Regions from separate parts of the Homo sapiens genome. Here region 2 is linked to region 1. The links are contacts of gene promoters, found by promoter capture Hi-C in human tissues and cell types (Jung and others, 2019). All regions are on one chromosome and are shown on one strand. Each heading gives the region's core, a stretch centred on a gene start or on the middle of the fragment in contact. The rest is flanking DNA. Distances are from core to core; before and after follow the strand shown.

Evidence for each region. Contacts are between HindIII fragments. The study calls those that stand out against the background at their distance.
Region 2: a fragment that was not itself captured here is called in contact with the fragment with the promoter of IFNB1 in region 1 in 1 of the 25 tissues and cell types used here (hippocampus).

What each region holds. Positions count from the first base shown.
Region 1 is chr9:21,076,538-21,079,252 of GRCh38, reverse strand. It overlaps IFNB1 (interferon beta 1), which reads left to right and starts at 1,311. Exons shown (of 1, transcript NM_002176.4): 1 at 1,311-2,149. The coding sequence starts at 1,384. The coding sequence ends at 1,947. The HindIII fragment of the contact is 10,658 bases long and covers 1-2,715 here.
Region 2 is chr9:21,125,910-21,128,624 of GRCh38, reverse strand. No RefSeq gene overlaps it. Among named protein-coding and RNA genes, the nearest start is that of IFNW1, 15 kb to the left of the region's middle. The HindIII fragment of the contact is 4,514 bases long and covers 1-2,715 here.

The DNA.
Region 1 (2,715 bases), core at 62-2,561:
AACTAGTAACGGTATTGCAAGTTAAAGGAACAATCTCATTGCTTGAAATTTTAAATTTTGAAATACACTGCCAATTTTCATGGTCTCTCCTTGTAAGCTAGTTTGGGCTTTCTCACAGCATGACAGGCTCAGGGCAGTCAGACCATCCTGGCCAAAGAGCAGAGTGCCACAGACCACAACTGCTTCTAATCAGCCATCTTCCCAAAGCCTTCTCTTTTTTCTATTAATAACTTTGTATGAGATTCCATCTTAATACTTTTCTGTTGTTTGGTCTTGTAAGAGCTTATTTTTCCTGAACCAGGAAGTGGTTCAGGGCGGTTTTTCTAACTTCACAGAGCTCCCTCTTCTGTTAGCTTTTGTGAAATGGTCAAAAACATAGCAGCCTGCCTTCTGAGTTCTCCATCCCACCCTGGTTGGGCCTTCTCTATCCTTGTCTGTGTTGTTTATATCCTGCTGAAGTGTGATTCCACTTGTGGCAGTTTCTCCTCTGTGTAGGATCAAAAGGGCTGTGACTGGTTGGTTTGAAAATTTCTTATACCCTAGACTATTCCAGTGCCTTTCAGAAGTTTCCAAGGCCCTCTCACACTAATCTATTATCATATTGGGCAAAACTCCTTGCAGTTTCAGCTACTATTCCCTGATTGACTTTTCAGTAAATCTATCTCTCAGTCTTTCAGTATCCAAAGAAGATTGGTTCTAGGACCACCATCCCGCTGCCTCCACAGATACCAAAATCAGAGGATGCTCAATTCCCTCTTATAAAACGTTGCAGTATTTGCATATAATCTGCACATGTATTTCTGTATATTTTAAATCATCCCTAGATTACTTATAATACCTGATACAATATAAATGCTAAATAGCTGTAACACTGTATCTTTAAAATTTACATTATTTTTTGTTGTTGTATTATTATTTTTATTGTATTTTTAAAAAATATTTTCCATCTACAGTCAGTAGAATCCACGGATACAGAACCTATGGATAGGAAGGACCAACTGTATCTTTTAGTGTTTTGAGGTTCTTGAATTCTCAGGTCGTTTGCTTTCCTTTGCTTTCTCCCAAGTCTTGTTTTACAATTTGCTTTAGTCATTCACTGAAACTTTAAAAAACATTAGAAAACCTCACAGTTTGTAAATCTTTTTCCCTATTATATATATCATAAGATAGGAGCTTAAATAAAGAGTTTTAGAAACTACTAAAATGTAAATGACATAGGAAAACTGAAAGGGAGAAGTGAAAGTGGGAAATTCCTCTGAATAGAGAGAGGACCATCTCATATAAATAGGCCATACCCATGGAGAAAGGACATTCTAACTGCAACCTTTCGAAGCCTTTGCTCTGGCACAACAGGTAGTAGGCGACACTGTTCGTGTTGTCAACATGACCAACAAGTGTCTCCTCCAAATTGCTCTCCTGTTGTGCTTCTCCACTACAGCTCTTTCCATGAGCTACAACTTGCTTGGATTCCTACAAAGAAGCAGCAATTTTCAGTGTCAGAAGCTCCTGTGGCAATTGAATGGGAGGCTTGAATACTGCCTCAAGGACAGGATGAACTTTGACATCCCTGAGGAGATTAAGCAGCTGCAGCAGTTCCAGAAGGAGGACGCCGCATTGACCATCTATGAGATGCTCCAGAACATCTTTGCTATTTTCAGACAAGATTCATCTAGCACTGGCTGGAATGAGACTATTGTTGAGAACCTCCTGGCTAATGTCTATCATCAGATAAACCATCTGAAGACAGTCCTGGAAGAAAAACTGGAGAAAGAAGATTTCACCAGGGGAAAACTCATGAGCAGTCTGCACCTGAAAAGATATTATGGGAGGATTCTGCATTACCTGAAGGCCAAGGAGTACAGTCACTGTGCCTGGACCATAGTCAGAGTGGAAATCCTAAGGAACTTTTACTTCATTAACAGACTTACAGGTTACCTCCGAAACTGAAGATCTCCTAGCCTGTGCCTCTGGGACTGGACAATTGCTTCAAGCATTCTTCAACCAGCAGATGCTGTTTAAGTGACTGATGGCTAATGTACTGCATATGAAAGGACACTAGAAGATTTTGAAATTTTTATTAAATTATGAGTTATTTTTATTTATTTAAATTTTATTTTGGAAAATAAATTATTTTTGGTGCAAAAGTCAACATGGCAGTTTTAATTTCGATTTGATTTATATAACCATCCATATTATAAAATTGCCAAGTACCTATTAGTTGTTCTTTTTAAAATATACCTGCAAAGTAGTATACTTTCTGGCCCCTGCCTTTAAGGAATTTAAAATTCAAGAAAGCCATGTGGAATATATAAGGTAAGAGACAATAAGGGGACCTGAACCTTATGGGGGAATAAATATGGCATGAACTGCTGTGGGATTAAAAGAGAAAAGGAAAGCTGGAGGGTCTGGAACTAAACCTGGGGTTCCCATTCCTCCTACTGTGTGCTCCAGATTCTCTCATCATAAAGTTAGAATTGAGCTGGCCATCAGGAATAGCCAGAGGAATATGTCAGCTTTTGTGTTCTCCCTAACCTTCCCACGTTATTTGGGGGATACTTTGCTCCTCGAAAGATTTTTAAATAATTATGTGCCCCCCACCATCCCTGCAAGCTTAAGGGTGAGAAGTCCCATTTACTTCCATGACACTATTAAGCAGCAATCTCTTTATTCTGCTCATCATGGGACAGCCAAGATGTGTGGGTATCTTAGGGGAGC
Region 2 (2,715 bases), core at 159-2,658, 49 kb before region 1:
ATCCTTTGGGTATATACCCAGTAATGCGATTGCTGGGTCAAATGGTATTTCTAATTCTAGATCCTTGAGGAAATGCCACACTGTCTTCCACAATGGTTGAACTAATTTACAGTCCCACCAACAAGGTAAAAGCATTCCTATTTCTCCACATCCTCTCTAGCATCTGTTGTTTCCTGACTTTTTAATGATCACCATTCTAACTGGCATGAGATGGTATCTCATTGTGGTTACTGTGGTTTTGATTTGCATTTCTCTGCACCATCACCAGTGATGATGAGCTTTTTTTCATATGTTTGTTGGCTGCATAATTGTCTTCTTTTGAGAAGTGTCTGTTCATATCCTTTGCCCACTTCTTGATGGGGTTGTTTGTTTTTTCTTGTGAATTTGTTTTAGTTCTTTGTAGATTCTGAATATTAGCCCTTTGTCAGATGGATAGACTACAAAAATTTTATCCCATTCTGTAGGTTGCCTGTTCACTCTCATGATAGTTTCTTTTGCTGTGCAGAGGCTCTTTAGTTTAATTAGATTCCATTTGTCTATTTTGGCTTTTGTTGCCATTACTTTTGGTGTTTTAGTCATGAAGTCCTTGCTCATGCCTATGTCCTGAATGGTAATGCCTAGGTTTTCTTCTAGGGTTTTTATGGTTTTAGGTCATATGTTTCAGTCTTTAATCCATCTTGAGTTAATTTTTGTATAAGGTGTAAGGAAGGGATCCAGTTTCATCTTTCTGCATATGGCTAGCCAGTTTTCCCAACCCCATTTATTCAATTGGGAATCCCTTCCCCATTTCTTGTTTTTGTCAGGTTTCTCAAAGATCAGATGGTTATAAATGTATGGAGTTATTTCTGAGGCCTCTGTTCTGTTCCATTGGTCTATATATCTGTTTTGGTACCATGCTGTTTTGGTTACTGTAGCCTTGTAGTGTAGTTTGAAGTCAGGTAGTGTGATGCCTCCAGCTTTGTTCTTTTTGCTTAGGATTGTCTTGGCTATGCGGGCTCTTTTTTAGTTCCATATGAAGAAACTCAATGGTAGCTTGATGGAGATAGCATTGAATCTATAAATTACTTGGGGAAATATGGCCATTTTGACAATATTGATTCTTCCTATCCATGAGCATGGAATGTTTATCCATGTATTTGTATCCTCTCTTATTTCCTTGAGCAGTGGTTTGTAGTTCTGCTTGAGGAGGTCCTTCACATCCCTTGTAAGTTGTATTCCTGGGTATCTTATTCTCTTTGTAGCAATTGTGAATGGGAGTTCACTCATGATTTGGCTCTCTGTCTGTTGTTGGTGTACAGAATGCTTGTGATTTTTGCACATTGATTTTGAATCCTGAGACTTTGCTGAAGCTGTGTATCAGCTTAAGGAGATTTGGGCTGAGACAATGGGGTTTTCTAAATATACAATCATGTCATCTGCAAACTTTTTGGTTGAATACCCTTTGTGATTTTGTTGAAAAAAACAATCAACAGTATATGCGTGGCTCTATTTGTGCATACTCCTGTCTGTTCCATTGATGTATTTGTGTTTTTTTTATTCTAATGCTTTACTGCCTTGATTACTTTACTCCTGAAGTCAGATAGTATAAATCCTCCAACATTTTGTGTTCTTTTAAATGTTATTTTGGTTGTTTTTTGTTCTACACATTTTCATATAAATATTAGAATCCATTTTTAAATTTCTATACAAAAAGCCTGGTGGAATTTTGATTGGTATTGCATTGAGTCTACAGATCAATTTGATTACAATTGATATCTTAACAATACTGAGTCTTTTAATCCTTTAACATGGTATCTCTCCCCATTTGTTTATGTCTTCTCTGTTTTCTCTGAGAGACATTTTACAGTTTCCAGTGTACAGTCTTGGCAAATTTTCTATCACATTTGTTCATAATTGTTTGTTACTTTTGATGCTTTTATAAAAATTAGAAATAGAACAACCATATGATGCAACAATCCCACAAGTGAGAATATATCCAAAGGAAATGAAATCAGTATGTCAAAGAGATATCTGCACTCCCATGTTCATTGGAATACTATTCACAATAGCCAAGATATGGAAACAACCTAAATGTTAATGAAGAGATTAATAGATAAAGAGAATGTATGAATAGTATGTACAAAATGGTATACTATTTGCCATTTTAAAAAGGAAGGAAATTTTGTCATTTGAGACAACATGAATGAATCTGGATGACACTATGTTAACTGATATAAGCAAGGCATAGAAAGACAGTGCATAATCTCACCTACATATGGAATCTTAAAAAGTTAAACTCATAGTAGTAGAGAGTGGAGTGGTGGTTACCAGGGGCTGGAGGAGTGTAGTATTGGGAAGATGTTGGTCAAAGGATACATAATTTCAGTTAGATAGGAGGAATAAGTCCAAAAGATCTATTGAACAATATGGTGACTGCAGTTAGTCATTAGTAACAATGTATTATATTCTTGAAAATTGCCAAGAAAGTACTTTTTAAGCGTTCTTACTACAAAAAACCATAAGTATGTGAGGTAATGCTTATGGTAATGCACTCAATTTGTCCATTCCATAACATATATATTTCAAAACAACATGTTATACCTGGTAAATATAAACTGTTTTGTCAATTTAAAAATAAACTTAAAAGGAAGAAAAAATTCTTTCTTTTGAATTGTAAACATATGTAGATGTTGCCTATGATAAACAGATGCGTTTAAGTATGCTCTCATTGAGAAT